3 separate regions of the Homo sapiens genome follow, and regions 1 and 3 are each linked to region 2. The links are contacts of gene promoters, found by promoter capture Hi-C in blood cells and fetal thymus (Javierre and others, 2016). All regions are on one chromosome and are shown on one strand. The core of a region is centred on a gene start or on the middle of the fragment in contact, and the rest is flanking DNA. Distances in the headings are between cores, read along the strand shown. Region 1 holds the start of DENND2C (DENN domain containing 2C). Region 2 has its middle 170 kb from the start of TRIM33. Region 3 holds the start of AMPD1 (adenosine monophosphate deaminase 1).

Evidence for each region. Contacts are between HindIII fragments. The CHiCAGO score rates a contact against its expected background, and 5 or more counts as called.
Region 1: the fragment with the promoter of DENND2C here is called in contact with a fragment that was not itself captured in region 2 in 15 of 17 cell types (naive B cells, total B cells, erythroblasts and 12 more); the score reaches 11.0 in naive B cells.
Region 3: the fragment with the promoter of AMPD1 here is called in contact with a fragment that was not itself captured in region 2 in 2 of 17 cell types (total B cells and erythroblasts); the score reaches 7.1 in total B cells.

The regions. Positions count from the first base shown.
Region 1 is chr1:114,667,679-114,672,071 of GRCh38, forward strand. DENND2C (DENN domain containing 2C) reads right to left here and starts at 2,371. Exons shown (of 21, transcript NM_001256404.2): 1 at 2,305-2,371. It overlaps LOC124904354 (a long non-coding RNA gene), which reads left to right and starts at 2,733. Exons shown (of 2, transcript XR_007066465.1): 1 at 2,733-2,972; 2 at 3,171-3,276. RefSeq lists a silencer at 2,375-2,464 and an enhancer at 2,585-2,744. The HindIII fragment of the contact is 6,814 bases long and covers 1-4,393 here.
Region 2 is chr1:114,337,280-114,341,161 of GRCh38, forward strand. No RefSeq gene overlaps it. Among named protein-coding and RNA genes, the nearest start is that of TRIM33, 170 kb to the right of the region's middle. The HindIII fragment of the contact is 3,280 bases long and covers 993-3,882 here.
Region 3 is chr1:114,694,047-114,698,249 of GRCh38, forward strand. AMPD1 (adenosine monophosphate deaminase 1) reads right to left here and starts at 1,500. Exons shown (of 16, transcript NM_000036.3): 1 at 1,404-1,500. The coding sequence starts at 1,425. It also overlaps the pseudogene RN7SL432P. The HindIII fragment of the contact is 1,819 bases long and covers 1-1,634 here.

The DNA of each region.
Region 1 (4,393 bases), core at 1,121-3,620, 330 kb after region 2:
GTTTTTTATAGACCTCTTTTTAAAATACCTATTAGATGTCATTTGTATCTCACTCACAGAATTTGAAACTCAGTATAGCGCAAAGGTTACAATCAGGTCCTTGGAGAATGACTGATTTGAATCCTACTTTTGCTATCTAGGTTGTCTAATCATGGGCAAGTTACTCAACCTCTCTATGCCTCTTAATGAGATAATCATAATAACATCCCTCATGGTGCTGTTGTGAGGATTAAGTAAGCTAATACATGTAAAGAATTTAGAATACTGCCTGGCACAGACTAGGTACCAATGAATGATAGCTGATGTTGTTATTGTTACCATCCGCTTTAAAAACAGCTTTTGTTTTTTCAGTACTTATTTTAGCCCACTTGGTAGAATGGAATCTCCTAGATGACAGGAATTACATACTGCTCTTACATAAATATAATCTTGTGCCTATTGTGTAGTAGGCCCTCAAAAAACAATGTGAATGTAAGGTTTCAGACCTCCAAGATCAAGAAATTGTAAATCACAGAAAAATTTATACATGGAGTACGTTTAAAACTCATGTTTTAAAGTAGCTTCAAAAGACCCATCCTCCACTGAATTGCTGAAACATGTTTAAGTAAAACTTCTAAAGCAACACACACAAAAATTACATTCACTAGTAACTTTCCCTCTACTACTTCATTTAATTTGATCTTGGTATCCAGTGGTCTAAAATTCTTGCCTATAACTTAAGACTCACTACAGACCATTTAAAAGTAATATAATTTCCAGCTTTAGAAAACTGCTTATTGTCATTAAGAAAAATAAATATTCTTCCTTTATTGCTGCATTTAAAAAACGTACTGCCACATTCAACACACACACACACACACACACACACACACACACCCCAACTAATGAAAGACCAAGACACATAATTACTACATTTCCTGGTTTCTGCCTGGCAAACTCAGAACAGGCCTACAAGTATCCCCAGCAAAAGCCTACAGGTTACAAAACTGCCATTTTCTTTTTTATTTCCCATCTCCCCGCTAAAATCCCTCGCACACATATCCATAGTAAAGAACAAAAACGTCTATAATAAAGGCTGTATGAAAAAATATGGCTATATATTAACAATATTTTGGAAGATTTAAATCTTCCTATAAGCAGCCCGTCAATTCACAAAAACAAATTAAAGTCTTGATTTGGAACAATATTCCCAGCTTACTTTAGCAGGTATCTTAAACTACAACTATTTAGCTAAGACAAAGAAGTAGATTATTTGATTGCTACAGACTTCGCGGTAAATGATTCAGCAACAGTGTATAGATAACACCACTGTGCTATTCTAGAAAATTTCATCAATCATTTAAAAATAGGACACACTCAAACAATGGGGGTCACTTTGTGGGAAAAGTTTAAACAACTTATTTACACAGTAAGCAAGGATCTATCACTTTATCTAAAACACTGCAGAAGAATCACTAGCTTTAGGGTAAACGTTTGTAAAGTGCCTACTATGTACCAGGCAAGTAGTAGTTGCTTCACAGAATATACACGCTCCACACGCACGTTCAAATATCTGACATTTGTAGAATACTGTCACTCATCTGATTTGACCCTGAGAATACCCATAGGCATGAACTTGCCAGTTTCACAGTTACGGAAAGAGAGGCCCAGGAAGTTAATTTGGCCGAGGTATCACATCTGGTTCCGCGGGTTCTGGCCCTAGACTTGAGCCTTTTGACTCATAATCTAATCATCAGCTGCTATACAGCTCTAGTTACTCAAAAGCTCTTAGGTGTTCCACTGTCAGACTTTTAAATTAAAATTCTACTTGACAACTTTCGGTATTGTGCGTATTAGATGCTGTTAAGAATCAAAACACCAAAAAAAGCAAAATATTGTTTGGAAGTGCATCGTCCCAGCATGTCGAAGTTCAAGCTCACTGGCTAATTTTGGAGAAAGCCCGCGTTTCCCCAGGCTGCCGGGCGCTCCCTCCCTCTTCCCCAGCAGAGAGCGGCGCCCAGCCTAGGGGTCCCCAAGCCCCTGAGGTAGCGAGGAGGTCTTCAGCCAGGCTCCGCCACAACCCGTGCGGCCACGAGAGGACGTCCCAAAGCTGGGCCCAACAACCGGTTGCTCCTCCGGACGGAGGAGGTGCCGAGACAGCGGGGCGCGGAGACACCACCTCCGCCAGCTCGGCTCGCACCGTCCGAGGACTACGCCGCGGCGCCACAGCCCCGCACCCGACGCCCAGAAGGGTGATGCCGACAGCCCCGAGAGTCCGAAGCCCCTGCGGCTTAAAACCCCGCGCCGAATCACCCCGACTCTTACCTGTCTGTACCTCAACGTTGTCTCCTGTGGCCAAGCTAGTCTCCCGGGTATCACTCGGGTCCGCTCCGTCCCGCCCCCGCAGGCCCTGCCGAAGGCCCCGTCCCGGCTGCAGCCCCACCCCCTAGCCCCGCCCTCCCTGGCAAGGCTCAGTTCTTATTGGCTCCTATTCCCACCCCTCACGCTATGCCCGCCTCCGACACCGCCCCGGCCGGCGGTGAGGGGAACCACCACGCCTCAAGTCCGCTGTATGGCCAGAACCTTGCCAGGACCTCGGTCACTGCAGTTCCAGCAGGCGGGCGACCAGTGTCACCGTCGTCCGGCCAAGCCCTCGAGCCAGAGCTCCATCGCCTTCGCCTGCCGTCGCATCGGCCCCACGGAGACGGCCCTATGCTTCATGTGAAGGTTTACTCTTCACAACTACTCAACAAGATAAAGCCTGGCTTAATCAGGGAATCCAAGCACTGTTTCCTAGGCTGACCTCAGTGAGCAAACAATTGCACTACGGTGCCAACTTGAAACGTCAAGAGAAGCAAATAACTCTCGCGGCACCTCAGGCTTGGAATCTCAGAACGGGGGTGCCTTGATACTCCCAGTGCGTGAGGTCAGCCCCCACGCCCTGTTGAGACACACATGCCTAAGCGCTCCGCCTGCAACACGCTCTTGCTTAGGTATGTGCGTGGTGTTGTGCCTACTGCAAGCTGTAACCCAGTTTCACCGAGGCTGCGGGACAAGGATCAGTTGAGCCTGTTTCCCAGGCACTCGCTAACCACCCCACCCCGCCTCGCCCCGCCCCACCCCACCCCACCCCACCCAGCCAGAGCCTCTTGGGTCTGGTGACCAAACTCTTCCTACATTTGTTCACACAGAGGTACCAAAATAGAAGACTACCAGAAAGAGAGGTGTTTAGTTACGTATCACGGATGACTGTCACAAGCAAACTTAACCCAAACAATAAAGGTAGCATATCCCAAACCGTTGTGAAACTATCACCTGTAGACAGTAAAACAGAAATTACATTCTATGATGGGGGAAAAAAAAGTAATGACATACTTAAAAAAAATCATGTCCCAATGAGGAAATAAATGTGGATATTGTTTGTAGTAAATTTTGCACACTGATCATTATGGGCTTCCCCCACCAAAAAAAAAAAAATTCTTATATAATGTGTCTATCTATTTATTTATTGAGACAGGGTCTCTTTGTGTCACTCACACTGGAGTGCGGTGGCCCAATCATAGCTCACTTGAAGTCTCAACTTCCTAGGCTCAAAGAATCGTCCCACCTCGGCCTCCCAAGCAGCTAGTATTATAAGCATGCACCACCACCCCCGGCTAATATTTTTATTTTTATTTTTTTGTAGAGACAGGGTCTCGCTATGTTGCCCAGGCTGGTCTCCAACTCCCGAGCTCAAGCAGTCCTCCTGCCTCAGCCTCCCAAAGTGCTGGGATTACAGACATGAGCCACTGCACCCAGCCCAGAAATGTATTTTTTGACCCCTGCATTCAGGAAGATTATTTGGCAAAATAAGGCAGGTTGAATTCCAAGTATCACGTATGAAACCAAATTTATAGATTAATAAATGAATTCACATGTATGTATTCTACTGCCCTCTCATGGGTAAGATGGAGATATACATAATGGTAGTTAATGCCCTTTGAAGTCTGAGAATACAGTGTTTAATGTAGCAATTTGTACTATTTTGATGATGAGGAGGCCAAGGTAAAATAAAATCTGGTTCTTTAAAGGGTTCACAAATACTCAACAAACAAAACTTCAACTTCAGAAATCAGGAAGAGATTCTTACACCAGAGCTAGTACAAACATGCCATCAGGGTTACACCTATGCTTATGGCTGCATGTGTAGAATATAGAAACGTGCAGAAATTTGCTTTCAATTTTTTTTCCATTTGAAAGTTCAGGCTGGGCACAGTGGCTCACGCCTGTAATCCCAGTACTTTGGGAGGCCAAGGCACATGGATCGCTTGAGCATAGGAGTTTGAGACCAGCTGGGGTGACATGGTGAAACCGCGTCTCTACAAAAGGTTCAAAAAAGTAGCTGGGTGTGGTGGCATGTGCCTGTAGTCCTGGC
Region 2 (3,882 bases), core at 1,383-3,882:
GAATGAATGGAGACAAATGTCACCAACTGAGTTGAGGGATGTAAGAGGGATGAAGAAGAAGCATATTCGGTTAGATGACGACTCTAGTTTTGATATGGGGAGCTTGAGCAGCCTGTCGGGTATCCAAGTGGAAATGACTGGAAATCTATTAGAAAAGAGGGAGAGGGATGTAATGAACTTGGTTTGGTTTTGTTCGGTTTCTGCTCTGCATCTTATGAACCTACTTTATATGCCAGAGGCTCTCCCATTGTATGGATTTGGTCGGAGACATCACACCCACTAATTCTCCAAAAGTCCAAAAGGCCAGATACTTACTCTCCATGACATCTGAGGTCATGAGTCACATGACCCAAGTATTGCCAATCAGCTAATTCTGCTCAATGCTTTGTTCATTAGTGAAACAAAAAAGCAGGGGATAGCTGAAATTTCATTCAAATGACGCCAGTGGTAACATCCAGCGTCCTGTGTTGGTCCAAGCAGGAGTATCTGCATCCTGTGGGGGTGGCCATAGTATACCCCACCCCATCCTACCCTGGCTCCTGCTCATTTTCTAAACCTGGTTCTCCAGCCCCACTGCAGTCTCTGTGAGCTATCCAATATCCTCCCTAAATCATTTCCTTTTCTGATTAAGTCATCCAAAGTGGGTTACTGTTGTTTGCACTGAAGAACCCCAACTAGTAAAGAAATTTACAACAAGACAGAGCCACAAGGAAATGGAGAGTTTGCCGGAAGATTGGTTATAAGTCTAGTCAGAATACTAAAATCCAGTTGATATTCAGGGAATCTGGCAGTCAGTGGCTCACAGTGGTAAATTGCTCAAATTAAATGCTCACTTATAGTCACCTGGAATGAAGAATTCATTAAGGCAAAACTTTGAAGACCATATCGCTACTTGCATAGAATGAAATGAAGAGCTTGAGTCATACAGACTGTTGTAAATGTAGCTTTTCCCAAGAGAACAAGAGAGTTAAAAAAAAAAAAAAAAGAAGACAAGCTTAAATCTCTAAATGTCCAACTCAAAGACTTTCCAGTAATGTGCTAAAATGATATCTTATTTACAGTCTTTTAAGGCTAGCATAGCTGAAAGCCAAGCACAGAAGTGCATTGCCAAATTTCAACATCTGCTGAGGTGACATACTGAAGCAGCTACATGGTCCAGGGTATATACCCTGGGGTTCGTCATCTCGCGCCGGGAAAATTTAGGACAGGGAGACACACGAGGAGTTTAGGAGCAGAGATTTAATAGAGAGAAGAGAAGAGAAATAGAAACAGCTCTCTCTCTAGAGAGGGGTCTCCCAACAGAAAATGACCAGCTGGTGGAGGAGGCACTGGGTTTTATAGTCCAGCTTGAGGAGATGTCGCCTGATTTACGTAGGGCTCACAGATTGGTTGGATCAGGTATGATGTTTACACAGCCCCGGGGAAGGCTGGCTACCCTGCCCTAATCTTATTATGTAAATGAACTCTCCTGCTGACCCGTGCCACCTTGTCTCCTTTTTACTGTACACGTGGCTGATAAAGAGAAGGGAAGATGGGGCCACCATTTTGAACATGATTGGCACAACTGCCGGTATCTATCAGCTCAATTTTACAGGCTGCTCTTTGTTAGAAGGGAAAATGATTTGGGGCTGCTTTTCATTAAAAGGAAAATCTTACTGAGGACTTCCCTACCCTCACTATCTGCCTAAGTAATTTCTTAACTTCTATATCAAAACTCCCTAGGTATGTTATATAAAGGATAGGGCATTGTTCAGAAAGGACTGTGGCCCCTACATGGGGCACGATGGCTCACGCCTATAATCCTACACTTTGGGAAGTCAAGGCAGGAGGATCACTTGAGCTCAGGAGTTTAAGACTAGCCTGGACAATATACTGAGACCTCATCTCTACAAAAAAAATTAACTGAGCATGGTGTTGCATACCTGTAGTCTCAGCTATTCAGAAAGCTGAAGTGGGAAGATCACTTAGCCTGGGAGGTTGAGGCTGCAGTGAGCCAAGACTGCACCACTGCACTCCATCCTGGACGACAGAGAAAAACCATGTCCCCGCCCCAAAAAAAGACAGCGACCCCCAAAATTGTAATAAGGACATTTGGGAAGATCTCGGAGACTCATAGAACACCAAACATGGAACCCTCCGGGTCTCTCTTGCCAGCTAAAAGGCATGTCCCTCCCTTGTCTGATGAGGCTGCTCCTGCGTAGTTTGAAGATGCTCTAACTCTGTGCACAGACTTCCTCACAGAAAGAAGCCAGCTCTGCTCATGCCTCTTTCCTCCACGCCGTCACTCATGGCTCATAAGTCTGTAAATAGAGTCAGACTCTCGCATGACCTGGAAGCAGGAAGTGGAGCTTTTGATTACTTAAAAAGTTAAATCCCCACCAAAAGACTCAGATAAGCAGATTCTAAGGTGGAGATTAGCAAGCAAGACCTTTATCAGGAAGTGAGCTTGAGACCACCCCTGTGGAGCAGAAGGGACAGAAGCAGCCTTGGGCAAGGAAGCAGTTGTGCTGTGCGCACAATTAGCATAGCTCTGGAGCTAGATGGTCATTTAGAGCTCTTCTGAGTTGGAACCAAGGAGCCAGCCTTTGTTAACCCAACTTTGACCAGTCGTTGGATGTGGCTGCTTCATGATGGGGACATGACCTTGGGCTAGGGACATTTCTTCACTCAAGGCATCCCCAGAGTGAGCTGCTGGCTGAGGGCCCACTCCCAGCAGCTGGGAGAGTAAGTCCTTCATTTCTGAGAGGGGATACAGTGGTGCACCACAGTGTCCAGCACCGTGCATTATTTTAAATCAGCCTGAAATTAATCAGGAGTATGCTCACCAGAAATCAGGAGACAGTGTGCTATCTCCAGCCATTGCAAGTGGCCCTAATTGCTGCCTGTCAGTTGTTTTGAAATGTGGGCTCAACAGTGGCTCATGTGAAATGAAATTCCATGAAACAATGGAAGAAATAATCCAAAAATTTCGGAATATAGAAGTGCTGGAGAGGATTTATCATGTGTCACCTACCCATTCATCTGCTAATTCTCTCTCAAGAGGGCCCAGAAGAGGGCCCAGATTGGTGAGGGAGCACCTCTATCTCTGAGAAGCAGTCTTGTGACTGATTTCCGTAAACTAAAGATGCAATTGTAAGCAGTTGAAATGGGATCCCTGATTTTAATGGAAAAGGAAAGATACCAGAATAGCAGAAGCTGATTTCAGGCACTTAACTACAAAAGACAAGATAATCATGGTAGTTATAATAGACAAGAGGGCTGGAATGGTAATAAAAATGATCCAACCTGACTTGATGGGGGCTAACTGATGAAGTCTGGGGTAGAAATTGAAGTTCTCCATCAATATCCACTCTCTTGTTCTCTCTAACCCAGCCTCCTTTCAGCTGATATGGTTATATAACCAGCTCTGGCCAATGAAGTGAAAGAAGAAAGGTGGGCTATCTTCATCCATTGTGCTGCTATAACAAAATACCTGAGACCGGGTAACTTGTGAAGAACAGGAATTTATTTATCACAGTTCTGGAGGCTGGGAAGTTCAAGATCAAGGCACCAGTAGGTTTGCTGTCAGTGAGGGCTGCTCTCTGCTTCCAAGATGGTGCCTTGTTGCAGCATCCTCCAGAGGTGAAAAATGCTATGTCCTCACATGACAGAAGGGCAAAAAAGGGCCAGACTCTCTGTGAAGGCTCTTTTATGAAGGCTTTATTCCTATTCACAAGGGAGAAGCCCTCATGATCTAAGCATCTCCCAAAAGGCCCCACCTCTTAATACTGCCACTATGAGGATTAAGTTTCAATATGTAAATGTTGGAGGGGACACCATCACTCAAACCACAGCATGGGTCATCTCCAGGACATGCCCTTAAAGGAGGTGGGGAGGATACCA
Region 3 (4,203 bases), core at 250-2,749, 360 kb after region 2:
CGTCTCTACTAAAAATATAAAAATTAGCCGGGCGTGGTGGCAGGCGCCTGTAGTCCCAACTACTCGGGAGACTGAGGCAGAATGGCATGAACCCGGGAGGTGGAGCTTGCAGTGAGCCAAGATCGCACCACTGCACTCCAGCCTGGGTGACAGAGCGAGACTCTGTCTCTAAAAAAACAAAAACAAAAACAAAAACGAACAAACAAAAAAAAACCCCCAAACCATAAAGAACCTAAGGGATTAATTAAGAAAATAGAATATGCAGTCTTTTAAAATGGTTTTTAGGAAAGGTTTGGGATACCATGGTAAAAGGATAAGTTGTAAAGTTAAGCCAAAACATTATCCTGCCAAAAGCAGGATATAAAATTACATGTGCAATATAATAACAGTGCCTTTTTAAAAAAAACTCTTTAATTTTACACAGAAAATAGATTGAAAAGAAAAAAAAACACTAAAATGTTAAGAGTGAATATCTTTGGATAATGGATGTGCAGATTTTTAAAATTATTACTTTTGGCTGGGTGCAGTGGCTAACACTTGTAATCCCAGCACTTTGGGAGGCTGAGGCAGGCAGATTGCTTGAGCTCAGGAGTTTAAGATGAGCCTGGGCAACATAGCGAAACCCTGTCTCTACAGAAAATACAAAAACTAGCTGGGCGTGGTGGCAAGTGCCTGTAGTCCCAGCTACTCGGGAGGCTGAGGTGGGAGGATCACCAGATCCCAGAAGATTGGGGCTGCAGTGAATCGTGATCGTGCCACTGCACTCCAGCCTGGGCAACAGAGTGACACCCTGTCTCAAAAAATAAATAAATAAGTAAAAAATAAAATTATTACTTTTACTGAATTTCCCAACTTTCAAAACGAATGTTTATTACTTTTATTTTTTCAGCACAATTTCTATTTCACATGAAACATGTATTGCTTTTATCATTTAAAAATTATAACATTATTATTTTAAAAATTACTCTGCGTACAAACCTGGACAACAGAAAGCTATTCTCGTGAACCATCAGAATACACACATGGGTTATTTTTGTCATGTTCATGATTTTCAGCCAATACCATAGCTAGAGTCATTATGTAGAAGCCGTCTCAGAGCTATGGCAGCACAGGTTTTGTTTAGACTAGCAGAATAGATATTAAATATTTCACAGAGTTTTCTACTGGGATCATCAAAGATGCAATATACATGATAACAGTTTTAGAAACTTACCCACATCCCAAAACTAAAAACAAACAAAAAACCCTTGAAAATATTTTGTGTTTTCCTGAAATGTATGTTAAAGCTATCACGAACCCTAAATGAATGATCAAAGCTGATATGGTAGCTAAAGGAACAGTTGCTTGTCAAAAAAAAAAAAAAACAACAACAACTGAGCTCTCCAAACACTTTGTACACCTACCTGGGAGTTTGAACAGAGGCATTGTTGCTGAAATCCTTGATTCTAGGATAGCACAGTAGAAAAGAAGAGAGAGGAGACTGTGGGGTGACTGACTGACACTATAAAATATCCTGACATTCATTTTATTATTTTGCTTTGCCCCCGGAAATTTGATTCTTCTCTGCTAAGTGGAGAGAGATGAGCTTTGGACCTATTTATAGCTTGAGGCATTTGATAGTGAAAAACAGGTGAAGCTTTCAGTCTTTACTTTGGGATTAGAAGATATCTGTGGTGGGCCAAAAATTGCATTTCAATACTCTCTAAATCTTCTTACAGACTGGATCTTTGGCAAGTGTAGGACCACTGATGGTGATATCCCACCCTAGTGAAATACAGTGAAGTCTTTCCGGTTTCTGAAGCTATGATCCTCAGGGTTTCACATCACGCAAACAGCTTTCTGTGGTTGGTGAATATGCTGGTACATTCATCAAGCTCTCAACAGACACACACGCACACGCACACACGCTCAGGAATGCATGTTTTTATTAGTAATGTGTCTGACTTAGCAGAACTTCAGTTGACAGTTTAATGAATTAAGTGTTAAATTTACTTCAAGTCTTTTACAGAAACTCAACTGTCCTCCAGAGTATCCAGTTACCACTTCTCTACCTATTGTTATAATAAGAACAATAGCTTTGTTTTGTATAACATTTTATTGTATGTAAAACATTTGGCAAACATTATCTATTTGATACTAATTACAATCCTGTAAGGCAAGTAATACCTTATCCCTGTTTCCCAAATAAGAAAACTGGGGCTCTGACAGGTATCTTGCTCAAAGTCATTCTGTTCATCATAAATGGCAAAGCCAAGGCTCTCTGGACCCAAATCTCACGCTCTTTCCATAATAACACACAGTCTTAGTTATGACTGTATATATGTGTGTGTATATATATGTATATATGTATATATATGTGTATATACATATATTTTTTTCGAGACAGAGTCTCGCTCTGTTGCCCGGGCTGGAGTGCAGTGGCGCGATCTCGGCTCACTGCAAGCTCTGCCTCCCGGGTTCACGCCATTCTCTTGCCTGAGCCTCCCGAGTAGCTGGGACTACAGGCGCCTGCCACCATGCCCGGCTAATATTTTTTGTATTTTTAGTAGAGATGTGGTTTCACTGTGTTAGCCAGGATGGTCTTGATCTCCTGACCTCATGATCCACCTGCCTTGGCCTCCCAAAGTGCTGGGATTACAGGCGTGAGCCACTGCGCCCGGCCAGTTATGACTAAATATTTGATAGTTGCTGCTAGGTAAAGAAAGTACGCTGCTAGACTCAGCAGAAATTTTAAATTATAACAGCTTATATTGAAGATGAGCTTGGCACTTCAGATTAGCAACAGAATTATGGGCATAGACCAAATGATCTTTTTACTATTAACTATTTCTTTTTGAAAATTGGGACAAGCCTTTTTGTTGGCAAAACTTAACAATATTTTAGTGCTTAGCCTTATGGCCAACCTCTCAATCAACAATATTGCAACACATTACAAAGGTGTTACTGAACCAAAATATTTGTTCATTTCTTTCCAACTCCTTTTTGTTACATTTTTACCTGGATTTCCCAACAGTATCCACAAATTGATACATCCAAACCAAGCATCTTCCTCCATGAACCTGCTTCTCCTTCAGTAATTCCTATCTTTATATAAGTTACACTCCAATTTTCTCATTCCAATTGTGTAAATACCCTAGTTGCCTACCCAAAGATCATTTTCCCTACCTTTCTTACAAACAAAAACTTCTTTGGTTTGAGCATTAATGTGCTCAGCCAAAAAACAGCATTTGCTAGAATCCTTTGTGGCTAGAAGCGGCCATTTGACACAGCCTGGCCAAAGTGATGTAAGCAGAATTGCTGGGTGGGATGTCTCCAAAAGTTCTTTTAAAAGGGACCAGCTCAGCTGGCATATGTTTTGCCTTTTGCCCTTCCTCTTCTTCCTGCCTGAAAAAGGAAATATGTGGATAGGGGCCTCCAAACCAACCATTGTTTTAACACAAATGGTGAGCAGGACAAGAGCCACATGAAGACTATCTGAACAGAAACAAATAATTAGGGTCCCTGATGGCATCCTAAAGCCACCATATTAGTCCAGGACTTCCCATATTTAGAATTCTTGTTTAATTAAGGAATTTTTTTAAGAGACAGGGTCTCACTATGTTGCTCAGGCCAGGGTGTAGTGGTTATTGACAGGAGTGATCCTACTACTAAAATCAGCACAGGAGTTTTGACCTGCTCTGTTTCAGACCTGGGCTAGTTCACTCCTTAGGCAACTTGGTGGTCCCCCGCTCCTGGAGGGTCACCCTGTTGATGTTGAAATTAGTGTGGACACTTGATCAGCATAGATTGCTATAGCCCAGAACTCCTGGACTCAAGTGATCCTCCTACCCAAGCCTCCTGAGTAGCTGGGAGTACAAACATGCATCACCATACCCAGCAAGACTTCTTGATACATAAGAAAAATGGTTGGGCGCAGTGGCTCATGCCTGTAATCCCAGCACTTTGGGAGGCCGAGGCAGGCAGATCACGAGGTCAAGAGATCGAGATCATCCTGGCCAACATGGTGAAACCCCGTCTCTACTAAAAATACAAAAATTAGCTGGGTGTGGTGGTGCATGCTTGTAGTCCCAGCTACTCGGGAGGCTGAGGCAGGAGAATCACTTGAACTCGGGAGGTGGAGGTTGCAATGAGCTGAGATCACACCACTGCACTCCAGCCTGGTGACAAAGCAAGACTCCATCTCAAAAAAAAAAAAAAAAAAAA